5 separate regions of the Homo sapiens genome follow, and regions 1, 2, 4 and 5 are each linked to region 3. The links are contacts of gene promoters, found by promoter capture Hi-C in blood cells and fetal thymus (Javierre and others, 2016). All regions are on one chromosome and are shown on one strand. The core of a region is centred on a gene start or on the middle of the fragment in contact, and the rest is flanking DNA. Distances in the headings are between cores, read along the strand shown. Region 1 holds the start of MZF1 (myeloid zinc finger 1). Region 2 holds the start of ZNF446 (zinc finger protein 446). Region 3 holds the start of ZNF460 (zinc finger protein 460). Region 4 holds the start of ZNF324B (zinc finger protein 324B). Region 5 holds the start of ZBTB45 (zinc finger and BTB domain containing 45).

Evidence for each region. The method cuts DNA at HindIII sites, captures the fragments that hold promoters and counts their contacts. A CHiCAGO score of 5 or more calls a contact.
Region 1: the fragment with the promoter of MZF1 here is called in contact with the fragment with the promoter of ZNF460 in region 3 in 6 of 17 cell types (activated CD4 T cells, fetal thymus, total B cells and 3 more); the score reaches 8.2 in activated CD4 T cells.
Region 2: the fragment with the promoter of ZNF446 here is called in contact with the fragment with the promoter of ZNF460 in region 3 in 5 of 17 cell types (fetal thymus, neutrophils, naive CD8 T cells and 2 more); the score reaches 10.8 in fetal thymus.
Region 4: a contact is called between the fragment with the promoter of ZNF324B here and the fragment with the promoter of ZNF460 in region 3, in 2 of 17 cell types (neutrophils and non-activated CD4 T cells). The highest score is 10.5, in neutrophils.
Region 5: the fragment with the promoter of ZBTB45 here is called in contact with the fragment with the promoter of ZNF460 in region 3 in 4 of 17 cell types (neutrophils, total CD4 T cells, fetal thymus and 1 more); the score reaches 9.5 in neutrophils.

The regions. Positions count from the first base shown.
Region 1 is chr19:58,572,069-58,574,768 of GRCh38, reverse strand. It overlaps MZF1 (myeloid zinc finger 1), which reads left to right and starts at 1,434. Exons shown (of 6, transcript NM_198055.2): 1 at 1,434-1,714. It overlaps MZF1-AS1 (MZF1 antisense RNA 1), which reads right to left. Exons shown (of 6, transcript NR_027334.2): 5 at 1,946-2,191; 6 at 1-1,852. RefSeq lists enhancers at 1,060-1,489, 1,550-1,639, 1,008-1,867, 1,868-2,700. The HindIII fragment of the contact is 12,442 bases long and covers 1-2,700 here.
Region 2 is chr19:58,475,098-58,477,797 of GRCh38, reverse strand. It overlaps ZNF446 (zinc finger protein 446), which reads right to left and starts at 1,446. Exons shown (of 7, transcript NM_017908.4): 1 at 1,294-1,446; 2 at 238-619; 3 at 1-161. The coding sequence starts at 579. ZNF324 (zinc finger protein 324) reads right to left here. Exons shown (of 4, transcript NM_014347.3): 4 at 2,362-2,700. RefSeq lists enhancers at 1,188-1,387, 1,542-1,836, 1,658-1,907, 2,148-2,207, 2,268-2,357. The HindIII fragment of the contact is 6,419 bases long and covers 754-2,700 here.
Region 3 is chr19:57,279,156-57,281,855 of GRCh38, reverse strand. ZNF460 (zinc finger protein 460) reads right to left here and starts at 1,371. Exons shown (of 3, transcript NM_006635.4): 1 at 1,020-1,371. The coding sequence starts at 1,049. ZNF460-AS1 (ZNF460 antisense RNA 1) reads left to right here and starts at 1,522. Exons shown (of 3, transcript NR_136529.1): 1 at 1,522-1,577. RefSeq lists enhancers at 1-9, 938-1,529, 913-2,112, 1,530-2,121, 1,236-2,175 and a silencer at 466-515. The HindIII fragment of the contact is 6,066 bases long and covers 440-2,700 here.
Region 4 is chr19:58,450,223-58,452,962 of GRCh38, reverse strand. ZNF324B (zinc finger protein 324B) reads right to left here and starts at 1,341. Exons shown (of 4, transcript NM_207395.3): 1 at 1,259-1,341. RefSeq lists silencers at 902-1,331, 1,309-1,635. The HindIII fragment of the contact is 9,897 bases long and covers 1-2,740 here.
Region 5 is chr19:58,518,392-58,521,091 of GRCh38, reverse strand. It overlaps ZBTB45 (zinc finger and BTB domain containing 45), which reads left to right and starts at 1,282. Exons shown (of 3, transcript NM_001316979.2): 1 at 1,282-1,350. RefSeq lists enhancers at 998-1,317, 2,375-2,700 and a silencer at 1,408-1,507. The HindIII fragment of the contact is 4,202 bases long and covers 1-2,700 here.

The DNA of each region.
Region 1 (2,700 bases), core at 185-2,684, 1.3 Mb before region 3:
TACTGAGGGAAGCAGCAAGATGATTCTAGGAAGACAGGAAAGGAAGAATAAACACTGGCCGGCCGCGGTGGCTCACACCTGTAATTCCAGCAATTTGGGAGGCCGAGGTGGGCGGATCACCAGAGGTCTGGAGGTCAAGACCAGTCTGGCCAACATGGTAAAACCCCATCTCTACTAAAAATACAAAAATCAGCCGGGTGTGGTGGAGCAGCCTGCAGTCCCAGCTACTCGGGAGGCTGAGGCAGGAGAATCGCTTGAACCTGGGAGACGGAGGTTGCAGTGAGCCGAGATCGTGCCACTGCACTCCAGTCTGGCAACAGCGAGACTCCGTCAAAAAAAAAAAAAAAAAAAAGAAAGAAAGAAAAAGAAAAACACTGAAATAAAAGCACAAAGTTGGATACAAAACTGCTTAGTGAGCTACAAAGCGATACACTGGACAGAAAGCATTTGCAACCTATCAACCTGTACAGGGTAGCATATAACTGGACAGCATCTGGACTCCTAAGTTTTCCTAACAGTTTTACCTCGGATTCTCCCTGTCTCTCTTCGTGCTGTCATCTTTCTCTAGGTCTTCGAAAACTGTCAATCCATCTTACTGTATCTCTAATTTCTGTCCCTTTTCTCCCTTCTTGTTTCTGTCCCTCTCCCTTCTTGTCTACCTCTTGAGTCTGGATATCTGCATTTCTTGTCTCTGTGAACCCATTCTGCGTTTCCTTCTTTGTGTCTCTTTCATCTGCATCCCTTTCTGATCTGCCTCTCTCTTGCTAACTGTTCTGACACCTGTTTGCCCGGCCCTGACCCTCTGATCCACTCAGCCCTCTTATAACTTGGACCCGTGTCTCTATGTTTGTTCACTTATTTTCACTGTCTCTCCTCGCGTCGAGTCTCCGGTCCTCCCAGTCTGTGAGTCTGTCTCTCTGTCTCTCTCTCTCTTCCTCCCGCCGGTCCTTCGTCTCTCTTTGCCCTTGAGTCTCTGGTCTCTCTCCGTCTCTCCTCGCTGTTTCTATCGATCGGCATCTCTCTGCCCCAGTACCCTTCCCCACCTCTTCATCCCACATGCCCCATTGCATTTTCAACGCCCGCCGCGTCTCCGGGTTACCCAGGCGATGTCGAGTCGTGTCCCCAGGTTACCATGGAGACGTTCAGGGCCCGCCCCTCGCCCATGATCACAGAGGAACGTCATCGCGCCGCGCGCGCACGTACACACGAAGGGCCTGCTGACTACATCTGCCGGAAAGCATCGGGCCAAGCCTTTCTCCATTTTGCGGTCTAGGAAGTAGCAGAGGCCCCTTCCTGTAGGGAGTTGCCATGGAGACGCGGTGGGGCACCGACGGAGTTCTAATGACGGCCGTGATTGGTGCAGGATCCTGCTAATCTCAGGAAGGCCCGTAGAGAAGTGAGGAAAACGTGGTGGGGGGCATGCGCGATCTGGTAGGCGGTGCTGCCGTCTGTTGTACCTGAGAGGCTTGCGCATGCCGACGCACGGATTCGAGGCGGGGAGCATGGGAAGAAGCGGCCAGGAGTATGACCTGATCATTGCGACCACCGCTAGGGGAAGGGAGGAGAGGGTGTAGAAACGGGGACGAGGGTGGGGGAAGGGCAAGGAGGCGCTCGAGCTGGTGCGCGGAGCATCCTGGGAGACGTAGTCCAGCGGGAGGGGGAAGTCGAAGACTGCGCGTGCTCAGGAGCGCGGAGCGGCCCGCTGAGCGCAGAGGTGAGGGCGGGGTCCTCTTAACCGGGAGGGCTATCGTGTGGACGGGGGCGGTGGCTGCAGACTCGGGGATTCCGGCTCCCCAGTGAGACCGGAAGCGCGGGGAACGAATCCGGGCAGTCCTTGCGGGAGCGCCCAGGGCTAGAGCGAGAGGCTTGTCAATCACTACTCGTTGCCACGACGACAGGCTTTGGGAGCCCCGCCCCCGGTTGCCTAGGCGTCGTCTGGACCTACCTTGGCACCCTGGAGCGGAAGTTGCCGCCTGGACTTCTGGGAAGTGTATTTCGGGACCCTCCGTAGGTACCTGCCATCTTGGCTATGACCCAAGTCTCTCCCAGGGTTTCAGGTTGACTTGGCACCTTGAAGAGTGGAGGCTTGGCCCCCAGGATGAGGCGGCCCTCGAAATCGATGCCACCCACGGGGGAATGATTCTGCGGTGCCATCCCCTTCATAAACGCAGATTCCTTCCTAAAGCCGCAGCTGCAGAAGGAACAGCGCGAGGAGGGAGGTCAGCCCCACTTGCAAATGGGGAAACAAGTTCTCGAAGGCACAGTGATCTGAAGATGGGCGGAATCAGAGTCTCGGGACTTCCTTGCAGGCTCCTGTTCCGGCAGTCTTGGAGCCTTTGCCGCCCCCCCACCCATTGCGAAGCTCCCCCATCCCCTTCCAACCCCAGCTAAATCAGGAAGCTGAGATGGGGCATTGCGTAGTGTGATGTTGGGCTTAGAAGATGGGGCTGAGTAGGGAGAGAGGGTGCTGCCTGGGAGCTGAGCCATACAAGTGACTGCACAGGTTGACATGGAGGATTAGGTGGAGTGAGGCTTCCAAGCAGGGAGGGGAATGATGGTGGGGCCCAAATGAGGAGCCACATCGAAGTAGATGAGAGAATAGAAGGTGAAGTAAGGGCTGGCGTTGGGTAGGGGGAGACGCCAGCAGTGATGCTGATGCCCAGGCTGTAGGTGTATAGGTGCCATCCACCTGGTAAAGAG
Region 2 (2,700 bases), core at 197-2,696, 1.2 Mb before region 3:
TCCTTCACACTGCAGCTGAGCTGGACAGACCCCTCTATTCTGGTGTCCTGGGGACCTTCCCCAGGGGACTCCACTGTCCCTGAGGGGTGGGGGCTCCCAAGTGGTTCCTCTGTCTTCTGGGCTGCAGGGAGCACCTCCTGCTTCAGGACATGGGCTGTGATCTGAGGAGAAGAGGTAGGTCACAATGGCTCTAGCCAGGGTCTATCCCTCCAAGAAGCTGATGCCAGCCACACTCACCCAGCCCAACAGTTGCCCAGGGTCATGCTGCAGTCCTTCGACTAGGGCAGCGGCCTCCTCAGGACTGCCTGGCCGCTGACCGCGCACCCAGGCCTGGATCTCGGGAGGCAGTGTGCCCAGGAACTGCTCCAGCACCAGCATCTCCAGCATCTGCTCCTTGGAGTGTGCCTCAGGCTGCAGCCACTGGCAACACAGCTCACGCAGCCGGGCCAGGGCTTCTCGGGGACCTGCCACCTCCTGGTAGCAGAACCCTCGGAAGCGGAGGCGGGCAGTCTCAGGCTCCTCAAGGGTGGTCTCTGGGTCCATGACGGGCAGGCATGGGGGACCCAGAGGGGATGGCATTCTTGCTCAAGGGGGTGGTCTTGGAATCGTCAAGATGGGCCTACAGAAAAGGAAGGGTCGGAATGTCAGCCAAGAGAATCTGGCCAGGGGAAGGCAGACACCAGGCTCAGCCCAGGGGGCTGAGACCAGGACCAAGTGTACTCTGAGGCCAGAAGAGATAAGGCCAAGAAAGCTTCATGGAAGGAGGAGGGTCACAGGACCCAAACAATGATGGCAAATGAGAGCAGGAGGAAGCCTCAGGGACAAATGCTTGGACGCAAGGTGTCCAGGGAGCTTCCTGGAAATTGCAAACAGTTGGGTCCAGCAGGGGACTGCTGGGAGATGACGCTAAAGAGGTGGAGAAAGACAGTCATCACAGAGTTCCAGCGCCAGGCTGAGGAGCCACAGTGTCTAGCCGAGGTGCGAGGAGAGTGGACCAGGGTGGGCGGGTAGAAGGTGGGGCCAGGCTGTAATGTACGGGGACGAGTCGCCCTCCACAATCTCGGGGAGGTTGACTGGGTGGGACCTCCTTTAGGAATGGCTCTGGGGAGGGGGCACGTGGACATCGTGCTCGCTGACCACAGCGAGCCGTGGGCGACTCACACTGCCGGGGCCCGTGCATGTGAAAACGAAAAGCAAAGGCCAAGAAAAACGGGGCCAAAGCTCCACGTTGCGCGGAGTCGAGGGATGGCCACAGCATCCCGGCCCTGAAGGTCTGCAGTGAAAGACGCCCACCTGGACGGGCCTGAGAGACCAGGCCTGACACCCGGCCTATCCGAGGGATGCTCGAACTTCGGGATCTGTCCCCAAAAGGGGAAGGCAAGAGGGAGGCGTTCCAAGAGGACTTGCCAGGCCCGGCCCCCCGGAACGGCGTTGAGGGTAGGAAAGGCCTGAGCGAAGGCTGAGGTGACGCGCGCGGCCTGTCGGGAAGTGGGCGGGCCCTCCAGGGCGCCGACAGCAGGAGCCGTTCAGGCCCCAGAGGGCGACCCCAAGCCCTCCCACGGGGTGGAAAGGCTGCGCCCACTCTGGCAGCCTGCGCTCACCTCAACCCGGAGCGGTTGCTTGGAGGCCGCTTCCCGGATGTGGCGCCGCACAACGCGGGGCGCCTCAGCCGGGTGTTGCCCCGGCGACGCCGCGCTGACCAATCTCTCGCCTGCACCGAAGGCACCGCCCATGCCCTTTGAACTACATTTCCCATGAGCATCAGCAAGACAGGCGCGACCGTGACCCGCTGACCCGCATTTGCAGCAGCCTCTGACGCCTGAGAGGCGCTCTGTTCCTCTAGGAGGTACGGCAGAGTCCCAGGGTTATATGGTCTCCCTCCGCTCTGAGAGCAGCTCTTCCCGGGTTATAAACTTGCGCGTCTGTACAGTGGGCCGGTTTCTATTGGCAGGTGAGGGGAGGGGGTTTTGCCCAATCAGAGGTGGCGCTTGCTTGGCCCCGCCGCCCCCACGCCATTCCCCGGGCCAGCCCCTAGATAACGCTAGGGCATATCCGCCCGCCTCCAGCTGTTCCCGTGGCAACGTTCAGGAGCGTTGCCTCGACTTCCGAAGAGGCTGGAAGTGGCGGCCCAGTGGTTTCCTAGGTCGAGTAGTTCGCTGGGACTCGCTTCCAAGTGGACCCGGGAGAGGCGGTGGTGTAGAAGACCACCCTGAGCCTGGGCTTTCTCCCGCCAGGAGGGTGCGAGGGCCATCTTTGACCTCTGTTAAGCGCCCTAAGGAGGTACCGACGGTTGTGACCGCAGTCTCTGACGTCTTCAGATGTCAGTCCTACAAAGTCGGGGGTGGAGGTTTCCCTCCAGGCTGATCGGACATGCTCAACCGTTTATTTACCTTTGAATTTGGGGAGCAGAACTAGCCAGGGTGACACTAGTTTCTCCCAATAAGCAGTGTTACAGTTTTCTAAATCTGTGGGGTCAGTTTTGCTTCCACACTTAAAAGTGGCCGAGCCATTACTTAGTCAGTCCTAAATTACACCGCCTGTTTTGGTTTCTTTGGATACCTGGGAATCCCTGCTGCCTGCTCTGGATGAAGAGCAGTGGTCTTGATCACCGATTGGAAGCACCGAGCATGTGCGTGGATGAGACTTGTCAACTCGGAGCTTTCCAACGGCCTCCTCAGGTTGTTTTTGGGGATGAGGTGC
Region 3 (2,700 bases), core at 122-2,621:
CCTAATTCTAAAGAGTAATCCCAGCACTTTGGGAGACCCAGATGGGTGGATCACCTGAGGTCAGGAGTTCAAGACCAGCGTGGCCAACACGGTAAAACCCCGTCTCTACTAAAAATACAAAAATTAGCCAGGCGTGGTGGCGCACACCTGTAGTCCCAGCTACTCAGGAGGCTGAGGCAGGAGAATCGCTTGAACCCAAAAGGCGGAGGTTGCAGTGAGCCGAGGTCACGCCACTGCACTCCAGCCTGGGCGACAGAACAAGACTCCGTCTCAAAAAAAAAAAAAAAAAAAAAAAAAAATTTCAGGGTTAAACGAACTGAGGGTTAAATAATACTCACCGATCAGCCCACAGCAAGGACTCAATGACAGTTAATATCATTCTTTGCAATTATTTTTCTTTGTTCCCATTACATCCTTGACAAACTCAAATCCACAAGCTTCTTTAATACCATCAGATTATCTACACAAAAATACCAGACTCTGGGCAAGGGTGTAAGGTGCCACTTTAGCCGGAATTGCCAAAAAAGGCACCTCCAAATAGGTGACACCTGGACAGATGCCAAAAGGATGTGAAAGGGAGGCCCTGCAAAGTTACAGGGGCAGTGTTCGAAGTAAAAGGAAGTGCAAGGAGAAAGCCTGGAAAATGGAAGAGGACTGCACGGTCAGGTTGGTGGCTCTGAAGAGCAAAGGACCAGGGAAAAATGCAAACAGACAAGGTCAGGGGTGGTTGGCCAGGTGGATGGGGTACGGGCTGGCAGGCAACAGAGAAGGTTGGATTTAGGGGAAGTGTGATGAGATCCCTAGAAGGAAGCATCACTCCTTCAACCACGGACTGAACACCTATCAGAGGCCAACACTGTTGCAGGACTGCGGATAAAGGAAATGACAAGCCACGGCCATTTCTCTTAAATAAACGATGGCGACAAAGAAAAATCCTGTGGCTGTCTTGGCTTCCAGCCTGCCCACGAGGCCTCTAGAAATAGCACAGCAGCAGCAAGGCCGAAACCTCGTCCACTCACCTGCGCCGGAGCCATCCACGCCGCCGCCATCCCGGGAATGCCGCGGATCAGCCGACCACAGCCCTTCTCTGTCCTGGGCGGGGCGACCTCGGCTGACTTTCGCACTCCGAGCCTCAGTTTTCCCCCGAAAAAAATGCGCACAAGGCCCAAGGCGCAGCGTCGGGGCTGAGGAGACGGAGGGCGGCTGCGGAGGCCTAGGCCTCGGCGGGCGCCGGTGGGACACCTCGTTAGGGGAGAAGCGGGGCGTCAGGCTCCCGCCAAGACGCGAAGAAGGGGCGTAACCGCTTCACTACCCGTCCCTGCTCAGGCCGCAGAACGCGCCCACCCAGCGCTCTAGGCCCCACACTGTTTCAGGGCCAAACCGGCCCACGGAGATGACGTCACACGAAGAAGCGGAAGTCCCGCCTCCGCCGCCCTGGCCCGCAGAAAACTCTCCTGTCCTGGGTCGTCAATGGCCCAGAGTCCGCGGCCGACGCAAGGGGCAGTGCCTTCTGGGTAATGCAGTTTTTCCCTTACATCTACCGGGTGTGGGAACTCACCCAGCGCATCCGACTGCACGTAAGTGCGCACCAGAACCCCCGCGTCGTCTTAGGGCCACCGCCTTAGTATAGGCACAAGTCGGAGGGTCGAAAGGTCCCTTCTAGCTCAGGAAAATCGAGGTCAGGAGGCGGGGATATTCGCCCCGATTCAGACCCCGAACAAAGGTGCTTACCCTGCTGTGGGCTGGGCCCGCGACTTCTCGCTTGCTTTGCCTCTTTTCTGGATCTTTTCATAGAAGAAAAGGATAAATGAGCAGTTAAAATAGCCACCCAAAGGAGGACGCCTGACAGTGTGCCCAGCCTGCTGGGAAAGGACAGACCGCCCTCTATTGGGCCTCCTTTGGCCGGGCCCAGCCTTCGTAGGATGCAGGGACTTCCGGGTGATGTAATAGGCTTCGCGTTCGCCACGTGTGGACTTCCCGTACCCTGAGGTGGGGAGGCTGCTAGTGGAGCAGGCTTGCCGGGAAGCCCAGTACTCCCATTTCAAGCATGATCAGTTTGAAACGTCAGTAAGACCACAAAGCGTAGTGCCATATACTCAACCTATGATTCAACATTGGCAGAGGGTTCGAGCGTGGATATATAAATTTGGGAGTTATTACTGTAAACTGTTACTTCAAGTCATGATATTGGGTGAGGCTATGAAAAGAATGAGCGTAGATGGATAAGTGACGGGAAAGAGGGGAACCCTGGCCCAACCCAGCATTAACTGGTTGCAGACAGGAGAGTTTATAAAGTCTTGTTAGGAATTTTAACAATCCTAGACTATGCAAAGATTATATTATGCGAAGTCTTAGGAGTCCCCATCAGTAACTTTTTTTTTTTCTTTTCATGACTATGAAAGTGAGAGAATAAAGTCCAGCTTTCAATGGTTTGACGATATATATGGTTAAGGAAATAGAAAGGTGTGCAGAAAGTACTCTCCAAGAGATTTAATTTTGAGATTGAAAATAGTCAAGGAATGGAGATGGAGTCAATTTCCTACACGATGCGGTACTTTTGGAGAAATATTTTTGGCTAAATTAGTGTGCAAGGAACACTGTTATTCATCACTGGCAATAGTAATTTTTGAAAATTGATAAAGACATCATTCTCTTTTTCACATATTTGTGACTCTTAAATTTTTTTTTTTTTTTTTTTTT
Region 4 (2,740 bases), core at 92-2,591, 1.2 Mb before region 3:
CACACCTGGCTAATTTTTTTGGATTTTTAGTAGAGACCGGGTTTCACTGTGTGAGCCAGGATGGTCTCGATCTCAGCGCTCCCGCAATTTCTTTCCCACATTGCTGCCACCCTCTCCTATTCAGCCACCTGCCGAACTCCTCCCCTGATAGCCTCAGGCACCCCAGCCGGTTTTCTTTACCCTCAAGCTGTAACTCCGCACGCCTGACTGCTCATCGCCTTCTTCAGTCCAGTTTATAGGCCCTGTCCTCAGCCCAGGACACCAACAACGTCAGGTCCAGTGACATGACCAACCTGGGACATCCCAGACTCTTGATCTTTCCCCTGAAGGAAACCTGCTTTCCTTTCAATTCTCCTTTCTATCTACAGCAGCTCTCTTCTTCCAGGCGCTCAGGCTGAACAACATGGGGTACTTAGTTCTTCAAACAGCCCACACCTGATGCATCCGCAGATCCACCAGAATTCACCTGGTCGCCCACCTCCACTGCTGCCCAGACTGTGGCAGTCGGTTCTTCCCTTCATGCCGACACCCCTGCATGTCTGTTCTCCACGCAACAAACGGTGGAACCGTTTTAAAGTCCCAACTCAGAGGATGTCCTGATTCTGTTCAAAACTTCTATGTCTCCCGACGCCCTCGAGATAAAGCCCACTCCCTCGCCTGCTACTGCAGCCGCACACATCCCCTCTACTCCAGCTCCACATCGAGAGCGCTCAGTCCCAGAAGCATCTGGGCTTCGGCTCCCCTCCCAGGTTTTGCACACGCAGGACTCTCCCCTCGGAGCCTCCTTCGGGACCTCAGCCCCCTGGCTGCCGGAAGTCGGGAGCTCACCAGTGCCCTGGACGCAGGAGTTTGCACTGACCCCCGCAACCCCCCCAGGGCAGGGAGAGGAAAGACGACTAGGCGAGGTCTAGGAAGCGGCCTCACTCCGTGGGGGCGCAGTCTGTGTGAGCAGGGACTCCCCCGCCCCCCCGGCGCGGGCTTGTCAGCGCCACCGCCGCCAGCGGAACCCGCAACTGGGAGGGAAGAAAGGCATGGACCACCCGGGACCGCCATCCCCGCCAGCAGCCTCCCGCGGCTGCCCCGCGCCTCAGCCTGCCCGGCAGTCATGGGCGCAGAATGCCCAATGCGCTGCCTCCTGGGCTTCCGCGGGGCGGGAGAACGCGTGGTTCCCGCCGGGGCCCGACCGCCCCCGGGCCGACCACGTCATACTCGAAGATACCGAGGCTTGGGGGCGCGGCCGGCTGCTCGTGGTCCGTACCTTCCTGGCCGCCCGCCTCGGGCCCCGACCCGCGCGCCACAGCCCAGACCACCGGTGTGGCCTGACGCGAGCAGCCAAGTGACAGTCCCAACGCCGGAAGTCCAGCCCCCAGAGCTCACATTGCCCCAATACGCGCGCAGACGCTTGCGCACAGCCTTCTGGGTTATGTGGTTCCTGCCTGTTTTTCGGCGCGGAGGCGGGGCCATTACCAGTCTCCATGGCAACGGCTAAGCGCCGCCGCGCTGGGCGCCTGGAAATGGAGTAGCGCAGCTGCCGCGGGTTTCCAAGGGCTCCGTGGCACTGGTTGAGTCGCCCGGCAGGTTGTCCCGCGTTGGGGATTCCCAGTTCCTGGCACCCACCTAAGCAGCCCTGGAGACTAAACCCTGCAGGTGTGAAAGCAGAAACTGCGGAGGTTCCAGAAGGCAACACCAGCAGGTAGCAGGGAGGAGAAAACGCACCGGGTAGGGCAGGTGTAGGTGGAGGAGCAGATGCCTGGAGCTCCGGGTTCCCTTCCCAGCTTTGCATCTCACTGACTGTGCATCCTGGGCGAGGGTTTGATCTCTCTGTGTGTCAGTGTCCCGTAAAGGTTTAAGGTCCGTTTTTCAACCTCTACACCAAGAATTCTCAGCCTGTAATGACACTACCCGCTTGTCATTTGTCTTGATTCTGTGATTGTTCTTGGACGCTCGCCCAAAACTTGTTTTCCTTGTAACTTGGACGAGCAGAAGGTAATTCCCCAGCCTTGCTTGTCCTTAGACCATCTAGTTCTTGCTTTGCCCCACACATCACAACATGGATGCTTTGTTCCTTTTTTCTCTGGACCAATCTAAGTGTCTTTGACACATAACAACAAAAGGCAGGGCAGTCTCAATGTAGACTGACCATGTTGTTGGCAGAGAATAAACGATTCTCTCTTTGTTGCTTCCCTGTGAGGGTCTTGTTTTTAGGATCCTTAGACAGTTCTCAGATGTCAAGTACGTTAATTCATTTTGTCTTCCTCTATACCCACCTCCATCTATAAATATCTGTCTACTGTCAGCTATAACTGTCCACAGAATTGATTCTACTTGTAGATCCCTATAGTGTAAGATAGCTCGACAATTTTTGAATGTTTTTATTTAAATTTTTCCTGCTTTGAAAGAATTTAAGAACACTTAAGTACTATTGTGATTTAATCAAATGCTTAGAGGCATTATTAACATTTCAAGCAATTTTTTTTTACTTTTTTTTTTTTTTTTTTGAGACAGGGTCTCACTCTCTTACCCAGGATGGAGTGCAGTGGTGCATACTCGGGTCACTGCAACCTCCGCCTCCCATGCTCAAACAGTCCTCCAACTTCAGCCTCCCAAGTAGCTGGAACTACAGGCAGGAGCCACGATGCCTGGTGTATTAGTCTGTTTTCACGTTGCTGATAAAGACATATCTGAGACTGGGTAATTTATAAAGAAAAAGAGGTTTAGTGGACTCATAGTTCCACGTGGC
Region 5 (2,700 bases), core at 33-2,532, 1.2 Mb before region 3:
CGCCCGGCCTTTTTTTTTTTTTTTTTTTTTTTTTTTTTTTGAGACGGAGTCTCGTTCTGTCGCCCAGGCTGGAGTGCAGTGGCGCGATCTCAGCTCACTTCAAGCTCCGCCTCCCGGGTTCATGCCAGTCTCCTGCCTCAGTCTCCCGAGTAGCTGGGACTACAGGCGCCTGCCACCACGCCCAGCTAATTTTCTGTATTTTTAGTAGAGATGGGGTTTCACTGTGTTAGTCAGGATGGTCTCGATCTCCTGACGTGATCCACCCGCCTTGGCCTCCCAAAGTGCTGGGATTACAGGCATGAGCCACTGCGCCGGGCCATGAGGTCTGTTTTCTTGCTGGCTGTTGTTGCAGCTCTTCTCAGATTCTCAGCATGACACCTGTCCTGTTGCATTTCCTCTCATGGACCTCTCTACCTTCAAAGCCTCTGGAACCCTTCTCCTACTTCAAGTTTCTCCACCTTCCTCTTCTGCCTTTAAGGACCCTTATGATACCTTGGACCTACCAAAATAATCCAGAATCATATCCTATTTTAAGATCAGCTAATGAGTAACCTTAATTATTTCCGCAAAAACCCTTTCACCATGTAGTGTAACTATTCATAGGTGAGATAATCATATTTACAGGTTCTGGGGATTTGGGCACGGAAATCTCGGAGGGGGCCATTTTCGGAATTCTGTCCCCCATACCAGATTGACTTGCAATGTCCCAGAATCTCACAGGGTCTAGCTCAGGGGAGGCCCAGAGCAGGGTGAGGCAGTTGTCTATTCCTGTCTGCGTTGTAGTAGAAGGTGCCAAGGCCGAGATGGGGTCCTTTCCCCAGTCCCACCCACAGCGGGCGGGCCTGGAGCGTCTGCAGTAGTGGTAGCTTGCTTGCACCTCCTGGCGGCCAGGGACCGAGACCTACTTCAGCTCTCACCCGTGTCACAGGAATAAGGCCACTTCCCCGGTTCGCAGTGGGGTTTAAACTGGCCAGAACACGTTGGGCACTTGGGCCGGGAACTGCCTTCCCATTCTGCATCACAGGGAGCTTGCGGATTGATCGCGCAGGCCCGCCACACCCCTGATCTCCTGGGCGACGCCGGAAGAGTGCTCTGGTCCAGACATTCCTCGCGACGCGGCAGCCCTAGCCTCTTCGACTTTGGTTCCGACTAAGAGGAGAGCCGGAGTGCAGACTGGCGGGAGCTGATCGCCATAAAAATACCGGAAACGTGCTTCGGCCTAGGGTTTCCCCTGCGCCGCCGCGACCGCAGGCCTCCGTTCCGCCGGGGTAACGGCCCGGAAGTGCGGCCTTGTAGTCGGTCAGGAGGAAGCGGCCACGGCAGAGCCTGGTGCCTGAAGAGGAGTCGGAGGTGGGGTCGAATGGGCATCCCCCTGCCGCAGGGCGGGCGAGGAGGCTGGGGCGTGCCAGGGGAGGGGCACCTGCGCTCCGCTAGAAGCGCACGCTGAGAACGCGAGGGGGCGCTGCAGGACCGGGGTACGGCGGGGGCCAGAGTGCGGGGTGGCAGCGGCGGGTCAGAGGGGTGCTTTGGGCGTAGGGTGGGGCGCGGGCAATGGAGCAGAGTATGGGAGAACGCGCTCGGAGTAAAGCACACGGCGCGGCGAAGGCGTGGCGGGAGTGTGCGGCGCCGGACCCGGGAAGCTGGCCTGGGCGCCGGGTCTCGAGTGCAGGCCTTTGTTCTGAAGTGTCCAGGCCGGCCTTGCGGCGTCGGGACTGAGGAATGGAGCCCGTCGCGGGGCGGGGCGGGAAAGGAAGGTTCAAGTCTCTCGGGTTGATGCGCAAGTTTCCGTCCCCATCGGCCGGACAGATTAGAATCCTTTCAGGTGCTAGGTGAATACAGATGGGGCGGTGCTGCTTGCTGAGTTAGCCTTTGCGCGGGCACAGGCCTGGCTTTTTTGAGGCATTGCACAGAAGGCTCAGAACAGGGCCAGGGAGCGGGGTGGTGTATCCGGATCCGTAGTCTGGAAAAGCTCCCTCTGGCTGCCGTGTGGGGAACAGAAGGGGAGGCGAGGGGCGCAGAGACACCAGCCAGGTTTCTTCATCCGTCCAGGACAGCGGGAACGGGGCAGTGGAGGTGCTCGAAGTGGTCTGAGGGTCAAATGTGGGGCATGCAAAAAAGGGAGGCGTCTGGCTGAGCAAAGGGACGGCGGATTGGGCATAAGGAGTCGGAGGGGTTGAATCTTGAGACCCCAGTAGAGCCCGAGGGTGTAGGGGCAGCATCAAGCCGAGCCCACCCTGGGGCTTTGTGACTCCAAGGGAGAGACAGGCTGGTGGAGCCTATACGGATGTCAGAGTCCAGAGCTCCTACCCTCCTCCCTTAGACTGGAGGTGTGTGCAGTCTGGGTGCGGGATGAGCCGAGTATCTCATCCCTTGTTTGATAGAAGGGGAAACAGGCCGAAGGATCACGGTTTACCTGCTTGATGGATGGAGTAGCAGAACTCCTCAGATTCCAGAGTCCTCTGAGGACTACCCCCTCCCCTTTCTGGTGCCTGATGTTGGGCCGTGTCCCCGATTACTCCATGGGCAGCTATCCAGTCACACACCCCTGCTCAATCCACACTTCCCCTCTCTGTGCCACACCCACACCCTGGGCCCCACAGGCCCCATCGAGATGGCAAGAAGCTGGGGCTGCAGGAGCCACCTCCCTGCTCGCTATGCTAGGGGCTGCCAGGGAGCATGTACTGGTTTCCCTGGGGCATC